Linked DNA regions of Homo sapiens: all the other regions are linked to region 4. Evidence: promoter capture Hi-C in 16 types of primary human blood cells and fetal thymus (Javierre and others, 2016). All regions are on one chromosome and are shown on one strand. The core of a region is centred on a gene start or on the middle of the fragment in contact, and the rest is flanking DNA. Distances in the headings are between cores, read along the strand shown. Region 1 holds the start of CARD6 (caspase recruitment domain family member 6). Region 2 overlaps PTGER4 (prostaglandin E receptor 4). Region 3 overlaps TTC33 (tetratricopeptide repeat domain 33). Region 4 holds the start of HMGCS1 (3-hydroxy-3-methylglutaryl-CoA synthase 1). Region 5 has its middle 10 kb from the start of PRKAA1.

Evidence for each region. The method cuts DNA at HindIII sites, captures the fragments that hold promoters and counts their contacts. A CHiCAGO score of 5 or more calls a contact.
Region 1: a fragment that was not itself captured here is called in contact with the fragment with the promoter of HMGCS1 in region 4 in 1 of 17 cell types (naive B cells); the score reaches 5.0 in naive B cells.
Region 2: a contact is called between a fragment that was not itself captured here and the fragment with the promoter of HMGCS1 in region 4, in 1 of 17 cell types (fetal thymus). The highest score is 7.6, in fetal thymus.
Region 3: a contact is called between a fragment that was not itself captured here and the fragment with the promoter of HMGCS1 in region 4, in 1 of 17 cell types (total CD4 T cells). The highest score is 6.3, in total CD4 T cells.
Region 5: a contact is called between a fragment that was not itself captured here and the fragment with the promoter of HMGCS1 in region 4, in 1 of 17 cell types (total CD4 T cells). The highest score is 5.1, in total CD4 T cells.

The regions. Positions count from the first base shown.
Region 1 is chr5:40,840,758-40,843,457 of GRCh38, forward strand. It overlaps CARD6 (caspase recruitment domain family member 6), which reads left to right and starts at 610. Exons shown (of 3, transcript NM_032587.4): 1 at 610-908; 2 at 2,395-2,700. The coding sequence starts at 626. The HindIII fragment of the contact is 1,795 bases long and covers 522-2,316 here.
Region 2 is chr5:40,687,714-40,690,662 of GRCh38, forward strand. The region is part of intron 2 of PTGER4 (prostaglandin E receptor 4); the gene reads left to right. Among named protein-coding and RNA genes, the nearest start is that of PTGER4, 9.3 kb to the left of the region's middle. The HindIII fragment of the contact is 679 bases long and covers 1,000-1,678 here.
Region 3 is chr5:40,749,468-40,752,436 of GRCh38, forward strand. All of the region lies in intron 1 of TTC33 (tetratricopeptide repeat domain 33), which reads right to left. Among named protein-coding and RNA genes, the nearest start is that of TTC33, 5.0 kb to the right of the region's middle. The HindIII fragment of the contact is 2,881 bases long and covers 1-2,785 here.
Region 4 is chr5:43,312,098-43,315,105 of GRCh38, forward strand. It overlaps HMGCS1 (3-hydroxy-3-methylglutaryl-CoA synthase 1), which reads right to left and starts at 1,315. Exons shown (of 11, transcript NM_001098272.3): 1 at 1,259-1,315. RefSeq lists enhancers at 1,085-1,224, 1,475-1,704, 1,711-2,227, 2,228-2,742, 2,837-3,008. The HindIII fragment of the contact is 3,835 bases long and covers 1-2,031 here.
Region 5 is chr5:40,807,009-40,809,905 of GRCh38, forward strand. No RefSeq gene overlaps it. Among named protein-coding and RNA genes, the nearest start is that of PRKAA1, 10 kb to the left of the region's middle. The HindIII fragment of the contact is 175 bases long and covers 1,510-1,684 here.

The DNA of each region.
Region 1 (2,700 bases), core at 169-2,668, 2.5 Mb before region 4:
CTTTTTAACAGTTCTTTGGTGTTTCACTGTCGACATGTCAATATTTATTCCCTAAACCCCAACTTTGGTTATTTTCAATTTTGTACTGTTGTAAACAATGTTGTAATGCAGATTCTTGTACATACATCTTCGGGCATTTGCTCAATTATTTCCTTAAGATAATTTCCTAGAACTGGAATTGCTGGGTTGAAGGATATGAAGTTTTATTTTTGTCTGTCTTCAACTTTATTTATTTATTGCTGTATATTGCCATATTGCCCACCAAATATCAATTAATAATTTACATTCTTGGCATCATAGTATAGTTCTCTGAGCAGGGAATACCTAGTCCAACCTGAAGTTCAAGAGCGACTTCTTGGAGGAGGTGACCCTGGGTCTGAGTCATGGTGAGAATTTATCAAGACTTCAAAAGAGCAGATAAATAATCCACAAGGACCCCGGATCAGAGAGTGCTCCGAGCTGGGTTGCCCCACTGTGCTTGTATCTGCACTCTCCAACACTAGGCATCATTGACATGTTAAAGCTTAGCCAAATAGAATTGTTCTTTGTCATTCTTTTTTTAACTTTTACTTATTCATTAGGATGATTTCATAATATATTTCCTGGTTTAGAGGAAACAGGAACAATGGCTACCGAGAGTACTCCCTCAGAGATCATAGAAAGAGAAAGAAAAAAGTTGCTTGAAATCCTTCAACATGATCCTGATTCTATCTTAGACACGTTAACTTCTCGGAGGCTGATTTCTGAGGAAGAGTATGAGACTCTGGAGAATGTTACAGATCTCCTGAAGAAAAGTCGGAAGCTGTTAATTTTGGTACAGAAAAAGGGAGAGGCGACCTGTCAGCATTTTCTCAAGTGTTTATTTAGTACTTTTCCACAGTCAGCTGCCATTTGCGGCTTAAGGCATGGTAAGTTGACTTTGTATACTTTTTGGGGTGAGAGGAAGGGGGCAGACTTTCTGAAAAAGAAAACAAAATGAAAGAAAATTGTTGCCTTTTATTTTTGTTAGTCTTTTTCTGGAGATAATTTTCATTGAAATATGAAATAGGGAAAAACTGGAATTTAAAAAGTTTCTGAAATTTAACATCTTATTGGTCTACTGAATCGATAATTTGTTTTTCAGACTGTACTCAAAACTTGAAGTTGTTTTAGTGCTAACAAACTGCTCATTATTCTGGCAGTAACATGCTAAAATCTCACAGTTGGAAGGAAAATACTTTAATAATAACACAATCCAGGGTTTGTTTTTCAAGTAGATGAATTCGTGGATATTTACAGTGCCAAGACCACAAGCTGTATCTTTCACTTAGTATAGCCGTTTTGAAAATACAAGGAAAATAATTTTTAACACATAGATGGCAAATCAGTAGTTTCATTTTTTTGGTGATAAGAATGCCAGCAGCAGCTGTTTTCTGGAGCAATTCCAGTGCTAATTCTTAAATGGTTCAAAGATAACTAGTAGTCCATGAAAAAGCAATTCTTCCAGTTATTTAGCAATTCTGTAAATTACTACTAGGACTAGGTCTAGCTCTTTTTCTAGGAATCTAAAAAAAAATTCAAAATTATTTTAAGGGATGTTAGAGAGGTAGAGGCTCAGATAAAAAGGTGAATGTTAGTGATACCTAATTTAGGACAAGATTTATATGCTTAGAAATTTTTCTTTTATTATTTCTAAAGCACACTATTCCAAATAGAGCCATTTGCTTACTGATTAGAAATTATTTGTGATCAGATTTCATTAGCAATGACCCCAAGAGACGTGAGTCTGTTGTGAGTCACAGTAAGTCCACAAGTAAACACTGTTCATATGATTCAAATTTTTCGTTTTATTCACTTACCCTGTAAGGTTGCTAGGAAGGACTCAAACTTTAAGCAAGACAGTGGTGTGATCTGATTTTTTTTTTTAGTGGAAAAAAGAAAGTTCTGAAAGTTGACATGTTGACATGCAAGTTATATAGGAGGTGTTAGGTATTCCTGTCCTCCAGTGAAATAAGAGGTGGCTGGGCGCTGTGGCTCACACCTGTAATCCCAGCACTTTGGGAGGCCGGGGCAGATGGATCACCTGAGGTCAGGAGTTTGAGACCAGCCTGACCAACATAGTGAAACACTGTCTCTACTAAAAATACAAAAATTAGCTGGGCATCATGGCGCATGCCTGTAATCCCAGCTACTTGGGAGACTGAGGCAGGGGAATCACCTGAACCCGGGAGGTTGAGGTTGCAGTGAGCCCAGATCGTGCCATTGCACTCCAGCCTCGGCAACAAGAGTGAAACTCTGTCTCAAAAAATAAATAAATAAATAAAAGGAGAGGGATGAAGCTTTGAGGCCTCAGGAACTCTAGCTGTTATACAGCTTCTTTTTCTTAATTGGGAAAAACAATTCTTTTCTTTGCAGAAGTTTTAAAACATGAGAATACAGTACCTCCTCAATCTATGGGGGCAAGCAGTAATTCAGAAGATGCTTTTTCTCCTGGAATAAAACAGCCTGAAGCCCCTGAGATCACAGTGTTCTTCAGTGAGAAGGAACACTTGGATTTGGAAACCTCTGAGTTTTTCAGGGACAAGAAAACTAGTTATAGGGAAACAGCTTTGTCTGCCAGGAAGAATGAGAAGGAATATGACACACCAGAAGTCACATTATCATATTCAGTTGAGAAAGTTGGATGTGAAGTTCCAGCAACTATTACATATATAAAAGATG
Region 2 (2,949 bases), core at 89-2,588, 2.6 Mb before region 4:
TCTAACCAACTTTTGAGGATGTTTTTACCTGAATTTGGACTTTTGCTTTTTAAACTCATACTTTTACTACCCTGTGAACTCCCCTTTATTGAAAAGACATTGAATGACCAGGTTCAGTGGCTTGTACTAATTGTAAACTTTTCCTCCCCCATGGAAAACTTTAAAATAGAGCATACTTTTAATATAGCCTCCTTTCATTCCCTCCTATACTAGTCGAAATCCATTGCTGCTGTGGATGAGATGAGGCACAGAAATGATTCTTTCCTTGCCTCTCATCACCTTTGATTATGAAAACCTATTATTAATTGTTTTACAACATTCCAACCTTTCTAAAAGGCCACAGAAATTTTAAAATGCTAACTCCTAATGTACTTCTTTGAATGGCTATAAATTCCATTTTAACTATTCAAAAATTTTCTTCCTTTCAGTAGTAGCCATGTTTCCTTTGAGGTTGTGGTAGGAGAAGCAACCAGCAATAAAACATTTTCAGTGTCAAAAATCTCAGAAACGTCAGGTTCAGACTTAACCAAAATTCTGTTCTGCGAGTCTCGGAGATGGCTTTACACAGTGCTTGTTAGGGAGGTAGTATCAGAAACTCTCAAGTGGAGCAACACTGCCACCTGGAGGCTTGAAGGCTCAAGTTCGCATAAACCCGGCCGTAGGTCTTTTCCAGAGACCACACACAGGACTTGATACTAACAGATTTAACGCCATCATTTCTTCTACCCTTAGGAACGTAGTATGTGATGTGAATAAAATATAGACCTCATGCTTTTTACCAACAATTCCATTGTCAGGAAATAATAATTAAACAGAAAGCCAGACTGGTAGAACAGAAAAGGCAACATGGAGGTCCAGACCAGACTCTGCCACCAACAGGGTGGGGGACATCCTAAGTTCCTCAAAACCTCTGGGTCTCAGTAACAAATACCTCATCTGAGAAAAGGCCTGTAGAGTTGAGGGAACTGCTGAGTTTCCAGGCATAGCTGAAGACCTCAAAGCTTATGGAAGGAAGAAACCAAGATGCTTTATTTTACTTTCTGTAAAGATTTTTTTTTAAATCAAGTATGCTTTGCCTTGATACTATCATTTATCCCAGCGTAGTTTCTAAAAGTATTTCAAGAGGCGATATTACACACTGCTGTTCATTCTAGTTCATTCTTGATTTAGCTGTCTTCCATATAGGAAGATATTAATTTCATCTTGGTTAGAGGCATGTCACTATTTTATTCTCTGAGATTTACAGGCCCATAATCCCATATCCAAAATATTTACGGGCAGATGAGTTTCAGAATTCAGAATTTCTTGGCTTTTAGAAAAGTAATCAATAATATATTGCAAAATATGTAATATCCCCATCAGAACTGGAACAGTAATCCTGGACCAGAACATAGGAATATTCACTCTAAGTGGAATAAATTGAACTAAATGGCTTCACAGTCTGTTCAGTTCAGTTTTGCTGCCAAAATAAGTTTAGGTCAGATTTTGCAATGAGTGTAAGTTCTCAAAACAAAACAAGTGAATAACAACAAAACAATAACAAAGGAAATGAACAAAAATCTTTTGAGAGAGGATCAGAGACCTATAGCTAATTAAGATCTAAATTCCAGTTAAGGAAGAAAAAGAAATGCAGTTCTACCTTACTGATCCAGTATCATCCAGGAGTAAGTTTAATATAAGCTTGATTTTGCAGATTAATGAAATGTATTTCTTCGAATATTTTAAAGATTCAAAGAATCTTTAAAGGAAGAAAAAAATAATTCTTCCTTCTTTTACCCAAATTTTACCCAAATTGTTGAAAATCTTTCTATAATATCCTGACCCAAATATTGTTACATCTAGTAAGTGCCAAAGGAACACATGCAAATGGTCAATGAATCGCCTTTTCCGTTGTGAACTGACTCAGCCTCAACTAAACTGTCCCTGTTCCAGGTGATTCATACACCATGAGTCATTCATTGTTACGCTGTATATAGTAAGGCAGCAACATCCTCAAGTCTTGTTAGAGATATTTGCCCCTAGTTAAATGGCTCCAGCTATGCTTTTGTTAGTTCTTTCTCCTTTTTGTGGTTTTTATGTATCTTCCTTGACTGTGAGACTCAACCTCTTCTCCCTAACCTAAAATAATTACTAAAGGCAAGAAATAATTACTAAATAATTACTTAAGATATATGGCAATTATTTTTATTTCTATACTACTATTTCTATTTCTATTTCTATGTGAATTACCACTACTACTATTTCTATATTAATTACAGATGAGATTTTTATATAAATGATCCCAGTGGAATTAGAAGTAATATCTAGGCAAAAAAAAATCATAATACTTTAAGAGTAAATTTGAGGCTGAACATGGTGGCTCACTCCTGTAATTTTAGCACTTTGGGAGACTGCAGCGGGCAGATCACTTGAGCTCAAGAGTTAGAGACCAGCCTGGGCAACATAGAAAGACCTCATCTCTACAAAAATAATAACAGTTAGCCAGGCATGATGGCACACACCTGTAGTCCCAGCTACTCAGGAGGCTACAGCAGGAGGATTGCTGGAGCCTAGGGGGTCAAGGCTGCAGTGAGCAATGATTACACCACTGCACTCCAGCCTGGGCGACAGAGTGAGACCCTGTCTCAAAAATATATATACATGTACATTTAACAAATGCATTTTCCCCTAAGGATTAAAATGATCATGTAAGTTTACACAAATTCATGCTCCATTCGCTGAATCATTTGAAGTTCCCAGATGTTGACATATCATTTCATTCTTCCATGACTTTGCACATGGAGCTACCTCTATTTGAAATGTGATGTCTTTCCTTCTAAATTTAGCAAATTCTCATTCATCCGTTGTGATTACTATAACTGGGGAACAGAGTCATAGAGAAAATAAAAACTATTCTCTGGTCATTCTGGGTAACAGGAGATCCTGCTGTTGGTGTAAAACTTTTCAGCA
Region 3 (2,969 bases), core at 95-2,594, 2.6 Mb before region 4:
AACATAAAGAAAAGAAAAGCAACGAATCAGAGGGCTTTATGAAACTACCAAAGAATGGGCACTGTGGGAGTATGGGAGGGAGAGAAATGAAATACTGCATAAGTTCGAGCAGGTTTCAAGGTCTTCATTACTGATGCACATGGCTGAAGTGATGTATAAGTACAGGCCTATCTCAGAGTTGTTGCACGGTCAGTTCCAGACCACTGCAATAAAGTGAATAATACTAAAAAGTGGGTCACACAAATGCTTTGGTCTCCCTATGCATATAAAAGTTATGTTTACACTATACTATAGTCTAATTAAGTGTTATAGCATCATATCTTTAAAAATGTACATGCCTTGCTAGGTGCAGTGGCTCACGCCTGTAATCCCAGCACTCTGGGAGGCTGAGGTGGGCAGATCACGAGGTCAGGAGTTTGAGACCAGCCTGACCAACATGGTGAAACCCCGTCTCTACTAAAAATACAAAAATTATCCGGGCGTGGTGGCATGTGCCTGTAATCCCAGCTATTCAGGAGGCTAAGGCAGGAGAATCGCTTGAACTCGGGAGGCAGAGGTTGCAGTGAGCTGAGATTGCACCACTGCATTCCAGCCTGAGCAACAGAGCGAAACTCCATCTCAAAAAAAAAAAAAAAAGTACATGCCTTAATTTAAAAATATTTTATTGCTAAGAAACGCCAATGATCATCTGAACCTTCAGCAAGTCCTAATCTTTTTACTGATGGAGAGTTTTTCCTCAATGTTGATGGCTGTTGACTGATCAGGGTGGTGGTTACTGAAGGCTGGTGGCTGTGACAATTTTTTAAAATAAGACAACAGCGGTCAGGCATGTTGGCTCACGCCTGTAATCCTAGCACTTTGTGAGGCTAAGGCAGGTAGAGGGCTTGAGCCCAGGAGTTTGAGACCAGCGAAATCTCATCTCTACAAAAAATTTTTAAAAACTATCCAGGCGTGGTGGTACACATCTGTAGTCCCACCTACTCAGGAGACAGAGGCAGGAGGATCACCTGAGCCCAGGAGGTTAAGGCTGCAGTGAGCCATGACCATGCCACCGAACTCCACCCTGGCACCCTGGGTGACAGGATAAGACTTTGTCTCCAAAAAAAAAACAACAACAATGAAGTTTGCTGCATCGACTGATTCTCCCTTTCACAAAAAATTTTTCTGTAGCATGCAGTCCTATTTGGTAGCATTTTACCCACAGCAGAACTTCTTTCAAAATTAGAGTCGATACTGTCAAACTCTGCCACTGCTTTATCAACTAAGTTTATATAATGTACTCTAAGTCCTTTGTTGTCATTTCAACCATGTTAACAGCATCTTCACCAGGCGTAGATTCCATCTCAAGAAACCACTTTCTTTGTTCATCCCTAAGAAGCAACTCCTCATCCTTTCAAATTTTATCATGAGATTGCAGGAATTCAGTCACATCTTCAGGCTCCACTTCTAATTTGAGTTATCTTACTATTTCCACCACATCTGCAGTTATTTCCTCCACTGAAGTCTTGAACCCCTCAAAGTTATCCATGAAGGTTGTAATCAACTTCTTCCAAATTCCTGTTAATGTTGATATTTTGACCACCTCCCATGAATCACAAATATTCCTAATGGTTATCTAGAATTAGAATCCTTTCCAGAAAGTTTTCAATTGACTTTGTCCAAATGAATCAGAAGAATCACTATCTATGGCAGCTATAGCCTTACAAAATGTATTTCTTCAATAGTAAGACTTGAAAGTGAAAATTGCTCCTTGATCCATGGGCTGAGGAAAAGATGCTGTTGTTAATAGGCATGAAAACAACATTAATCTTGTACATCTCCATCAGAACTCTTGGATGACAGGGTGCACTGTCAATGAGCAGTAAAATTTTGAAAGGAATCTTTTCTTCATGAGCAGGTCTCAATAGTGGGCTTAAAATATTCAGTAAACCATGCTGTAAACAGATGTGCCATCATCCAGGCTTTGTTGTTCCATTTATAGAACACAGGCAAAGTACATTTAGCATAATTCTCAAGGGCAACAGGATTTTGAGAACGGTAAATAGACATTGGCTTCAATTTAAAGTTCCCAGCTACATTAGCCCTCACAAAGGAGTGAGCCTGTCTTCTGATGCTTTAAAGCCAAGCATTGACTTCTCTGCAGCTATGAAAGTCCTGGAGAGTATCTTCTTCCAATAGAAACCTGTGTCATCCACATTGAAAATCTTATGGCCATGCGCAGTGGCTCACACCTGTAATCTCAGCACTTTGGGGGGCCAAGGCGGAAGGATCACAAGGTCAAGAGATAGAGACCATCCTGGCCAACATGGTGAAGCCCTGTCTCTACTAAAAATACAAAAATTAGCTGGGCGTGGTGGCGCACGCCTGTAGTCCCAGCTGCTCGGGAGGCTGAGGCAGGAGAATCGCTTGAACCCAGGAGGCGGAGGTTGCAGTGAGCCAAGATCATGCCATTGCACTCCAGCCTGGGCAACAGAGTGAAACTCCGTCTCAAAAGAAAAAAAAAAAAAAAAAGAAAATCTCATTTAGTGTAGCCAACTTCATCAATTATCTTAGCTAGATCTTTTCTGGATAACATCAGCATTTGCTGCTTTACTTTGCACTTTCATGTTATGAAAATGGCTTCTTAAACCTCACAAACGAACCTCTAGCAGTTTCAAACTTTACTTTGGCAGCTTCTTCACCTCTCTCAGCATTCACAGAATTGAAGAGAGTTAGAAACTTGCTCTAAATGAGGCTCCTGCTTAAGGGAATATTGTGGCTGGTTTGATCTATCTAGACCATTCAAAGCTTCTCCATATTAGCAATAAAGCGGTTTTTGCTTTCTTATCATTTGTGTGTTTACTGAAGTAGCACTTTCAATTTCATTGAAGAACTTTTCCTTTGCATTCACCACTTGGCTGTTTGGTGCAAGAGGCCTAGCTTTCAGCCTGTATTGGCTTTCAACAGGTCTTCCTAAAATCATTTCTAGC
Region 4 (3,008 bases), core at 65-2,564:
ACGGATAATGTTAACGACTTTCAACTGCCTCTCATCTAATAGTATCTGTGCAATAAAGTCCAAAACACATCTCAGAAGGAAAAATCTGTTAACTCTAGGAGCACTTCCATTTGTCTTAATTTTGTTGTTTATCTTGTCATTGTTTTTCATATTCATGCCTAAAACAGAGCAAATGTTAGTTAGCAGCAACCAGAACACATCATCCTACTGCAGCAGGTGGCAAGAGCATCCTCGGGAAGGTGGGGAGCTGCAGCAGAGGTGAGCAGTGAAAGCAGCTACTGATGCCTTAAGGCTAAGGCCATAGGGACAAGCATGACAAACAGGCACAACCTCACATTATTTGTTCCCCAAATCCCTCCTCCAGAGTGGATCAGAATAATCGTTTCTCTACCACTGGTCAAGGCCAGACGTGGGTTTTCAAAGACTCCATATACTTGCTTTGAAATATCCTTAGCTTAATCCAAAACCTATTTGTGGGAGGACTCTGTGAGTGCCTGCCCATTACACTGTATCACCTAAAGCTGGTCCCGAAGGTATTAGTAGGAGAGAGATGTGGGATTTCAGAACACCAAGGAAGCCTATTTTTTAAAACGTAGACAAAAAAAAATATGGAGGCAGGAAGGCGGGAGGCAGTGATCTATGAGATTTGAAGCAAGTACAGACTGAGCCCCAGTACTTAGCCAGGTCTAAATCACGGTTGTGAACGCTTTCTTGCACCTGAGCTGAGGAAGAAAAGTAATGCTACCCACTTCCCTTCTTTCCATCAACTCTATATGTGGCAGCAGGACACACCCCCTGCGAACCTACCAGCCTCCGTCTAAAGAGGATCTTGCCCATCCTTTGGCGTCCACCCTTAACCAACGCTCTGGAAACGCCTTGGTAGCCCAACTGTCTTCTCTCCCCCTCCTGACACCCCCCACTCACCTCTAGGCGGTCACAGCTGCCTCTCTGGCACCTCCAACTCCTCTGTCGTTAGAATACCTAGACCTCAACGCCCTCTCGCGTTCTCCCCTCCGCGACTCGCCTGTGTTCTCGGATCTTCTCAGATCCGCTACGGTCGGCCTCAGGTCCCTCACGAGGGAACCCCCGCCCGGCCCCGCTCACGGTGCCCCATCCTCCCGGGCAAAGTCCACGCCTACGTCCTGACCCAGAGCCCCAGCTCCTTCGGGCCTAGTCAAGGACACCGCCTCTGTCTGGCCCACACCCCGCCCGCGGCACCTCCGCAGCCCAGTTCTACTCCCCAGCGCGGGACACTCACCAAGCGTGACCGAGCGGCAGCAGAGGAAAGGGAGTGAGCCACGAAAGGACAGTCCGCGGCGCCTCCCCTTCGCCACCAGCTTTATAGCCGCCAACCCACCCGACTCCGGCACCGCCGAGAGTCGCTGGGAGGCGGGACGGTGGCTCCCACAGCCAATCGCGGCCGGTAGAGTTGCCCGGCAGCGCCCGCCCCCCAGTCCGGCTTCTACCAATCAAAAGGAAACTAGAGGCGATGACTCGCTAGGATTTTCCCTCGTGGCTGGAAGGGCGGGGAGAAGAGGCGGGGACAAAGTCTCAGGGCCGAGGAAGTGGTGTGAGAGACTGACGTGAGGTGGCACGAGAGCCCAGTTGCCAATGACGGAGCTGCGAGATACGGCGAGAGCCAACGGGAGCGGAGTGAGAGGTTCTCCGACCAATTGGGACTAAGTGAGAGGAGATGCGGGCCAATGGGTACTCCGCGTCCCACCGCTGGAGAGATGGTCAAATGTGGGAGGCGAGGTGGTCCCAGCTTGGGAGTCTGTCAGGTTGCCTAGCAACCAGAACTAGGCTTCACCTGAAAGATTTCTGAAATACTGTACTTGATTTGAATTCAGTCTTAACGTTTTCTAGCAAAGTGTGCGTAGATTGCAAATTGGAGCAGAATACTTCACCCAGAACTTGTATATGTGTAAATAGTCTAAATACCCGATTTGTAAATACTCAAATATTGTCTCCTTTATTCAAAACTACCTTGACTTAAAGAAAACAGAACAAACAAAAGTGCTCTTGAGACAAAGCTTTCTAACTAAACCTAAAACAAAATGGTTTCAGGATTAGGCATCCGTGGGGAGGGTGCAGAGCCTTGCCTGTGAAGGGAAGTTGATACTGAATTCAAGGATTTTTGCCAGGCCATGCACTCTGAGGAAAGGGACTCCATTTGGCCTGTTGCCCACTGTATCTTCTAAGCTTCATATGTGGTACCTGCCAAGTAAAAGGCTGTGGAAAGGCCACGTAATTGTCGGCATAGTAAATCCATCGGATACGGACTGCCTAACTCCCCCAGCAAATAGAGAGGAGCAATTCAAGCTAGAGGAATTCACTGAAACACTATTTGGGGGAATCCAAAGGAGGACACTTGTGGCTTTGCAATAAACTCTGCCTCTATCTGGTCAGAGAGAGAAGCCATAATACTTAGCTTTGGTGGGGGACCATGAGTGAGGTTCGGAGTTGTTTGTATCTCTCCCCATCTCAATTTAATTAACAGGAATGCTATTGATAAGGGGTCATTGGTAATTCTGTGATTCACACAATTATTGTTATGGGAGATTCTTTTAACCACTATAGATGCTAACCTAGTAAGACACATTCTCAGCAGCAAAGTGGCAAAATATATTGGAAATGGAACCACTGTGAAGTGGTGGCATAAATGACTTGGGGGAAGAGGACCACTCAGTAATGATTTCCATTCCACAGTATTGCCCATGACTCACTTCATATGTATGTAAAGTAACTAGATAGTAAACAGAGAGAGAGACATTGCCTGATTATGATCAACAGCAATTTGGGGTGGGGTAGGAGATTAAAATTCTTGGCATATTGGAATATGCTGAAAGGCAGTAAGGACAAACACAAGAAAGAAGATACAGTTTTGTCGTTAGGAATCGCAAATAATTCCAACTCCAGGAGTACATAATGGGAAATGATTAGCCAGACGGTCATGAGAATGACCATCTTACACAACCGGAAATTTCTACAAGGAACAGACCGTCTTT
Region 5 (2,897 bases), core at 347-2,846, 2.5 Mb before region 4:
TTTTGTTTTTGGTTTTTTGTTTGAGACGGAGTCTTGCTCTGTCGCCCAGGCTGGAGTGCAGTGACATGATCTTGGCTCACTGCAACCTCCGTCTCCCGGTTTCAAGTGATTCTCCTGCCTCAGCCTCCCAGGTAGCTGGGACTACAGGTGCGCATCACCATGCCTGGCTAATTTTTGTATTTTTCATACAGACAGGGTTTCACTTATGTTGGGCAGGCTGGTCTCGAACTCCTGACCTCGTGATGCACCCACCTTGGCCTCCCAAAGTGCTGGGATTACAGGCGTGAGCCACACAGTTTTCCCATAACTGTCTTCTAGGGAAAATCTTGGCACCGTTCACAAGGACTCTGTCGGCCCATCTCCATGTGGATGTGGTTGGTTAGTCCTGGTTGGATTCCTTAGTGTTAATAAGAAGATATCAACCCTGTCCACCCCTCAGTTGACTTGCTGATTATCAGACGTATGGATCTATACATAATCAGCAGTACAAATTATATTCATTTGCCAGAAGACGTAACTCTAAATTCTTTGGTGCCCTATTCTTATCAGCTAAGAGAAAGTATATCCTTGGATGGGCACCTGAAGAATATGCTGATAGCCTAAACTGTACCCTTGGATCATTTGAGACCAATAGCAAGGGAGAGTAATTTGTCCTGTTTTTTGGTCACTGTTAGAATTGCTTTTACTGAATTATACTTTGGTAGTACAAAGAGCTGATAAACATGTAGATGCCTTTAGTAAGCTAATTATTTGACTCTCCATTCAAACCAGGAATTTAGTCTCCCTCAAAACAAAATTATTTAAAAATCTATCCAACATTAGCTGGGCGCGGTAGCTCACCCCTGTAATCCCAGCACTTTGGGATCCGTCCACCGAGGCGGGAGGATCACAAGGTCAGGAGATCGAGACCATCCTGGCTAACACGGTGAAACTCCATCTCTACTAAAAATACAAAAAATTAGGCAGGCATGGTGGCACGCGCCTGTAGTCCCAGCTACTCCGGAGGCTGAGGCAGGAGAATCGCTTGAGGCAGAGGTTGCAGTGAGCTAAGATTGTGCCATTGCACTCCAGCCTGGGCTACACAGCGAGACTCTGTCTCAAAAGAAAAAAAAAATCTGTCCAACATTTATTTGAGTGGAAAGGCAGAGAAAGAGGACGGCTGGATCAGTGCCCCAGCAAACAATGACCTTGTGGTAACCAGACTCTGACTTCTTAGACGTGTGTTTGTGGGTTGGGGAGTTTTATCCGCCCCTGACCAAGTGGTTTGTCAAAGTAGTTCTGTTTAACCACATCCCTCTGAGAAGAGCTCAGGTAAGAAGCTCAGGTAAATAGAAATTCTAGTGATGTTTTCAGGCCTCAGGGGGCGGGTTGGGGGTGGTGGTGGTGGTGTGTATAATATCACTTATAGATTACCTCCTGTGCAGCTGGCCCAGCTCAGCTCCCTCCAACCTTGTGCTGCTGCCCTCCAACCTCAGGCCCTGGGGGATGTTCTAAGAAACAAATCTGCAAAGCTTTTTCAATTCAGCTGACTCACACTGACAGCTAACTCTAACAAAGATGTAGTCACTTAAAGGCATGCATTTTAGTATTCTAACCTCATCCCTTGATTTATCTTACTTTCCTTCCTCTAAGATCCTTATTTTCTTGTTTATTTATTACTTACTTTGCTGGATATTATTCTCTAAGCTTCCCAAATACTTTCTGGTTTGTTTGTTTTGTTTTGTTTTTGGGGGATGGAGTCTCACTCTGTCACCCAGGCTGGAGTGCAATGGCACGATTCCAGCTCACTCCAACCTCTGCCTCCCAGGCTCGAGTGATTCTTCCACCTCAGCCTCCCAAGTAGCTGGGACCACAGATGCGGCCACCATGACTGGCTAATTTTTGTATATTTGGTAGAGATGGGGTTTCACCCTGTTGGCCAGGCTGGTCTCGAACTCCTGACCTCAGGCGATCCGCCCACCTCGGCTACCCAAAGTACTGGGATTACAGTCATGAGCCACAGTGCCCTGCCTTCCCAAATGCTTTTTGAAAATAGACTTTATTTTTCAGGACAGCTTTAGATTTACAGAAAAATTGTGAAACTAATATAGAGTTATCATATACCCTACATGCAGTTTTCCCGATTATCAACACCTTACATTCTGTAGTACATTTGTTATGATTTGTGAACCAATCAATATTGATATATTATGAGTAACTAAAGTCTTCACTTTATTCCACACCTTAGTTTTTACCTAAGTTCCTTTTTTTGTTCTAGGATCCCATCCAGGATACTTTATTTATGTATTTATGTATTTATTTATTTATTTATTTTTTAGATTGGAGTCTCGCTCTGTCGCCCAGGTTGGAGTGCAGTGGCGGGATCTCGGCTCACTGCCACTTCCGCCTCCTGGGTTCAAGCGATTCTTGTGCCTCAGCCTCCCAAGTAGCTGGGACTACAGGTGTGTGCCACCTGTAGCAGTGCTAATTTTTGTATTTTTAGTAGAGATGGAGTTTCACCATGTTGGCCAGGCTAGTCTGGAACTCCTAACCTTGTGATCCACCTGCATTGGCCTCCCAAAGTGCTGGGATTACAGGCATGAGCCACTGCTCCGAGCCTTGTCTTATACTTAGATGTTATGGATTGAATGTTTGTGTCCCTCCCAAAATTCATGTATTGAAATTCTAATTCTCCGTGTGATTATATTAGGAGGTGGGTCTTTGGTGGGTAATTAGGTCATGAAGGTAGAGCCCTCATAAATGAAAGCGACTCCAGAGAAGTCTCTGGCTCTTTCCTTTCACCACATGAGGCTACAACAAAAAGTCAGCAGTCTGCAAACCCAAAGGAGGCCCGCATCAGAACCCAACCATACTGGCACCCTGATTTCAAGCTTGCAGCTTCCATTACTGTGAGAAAT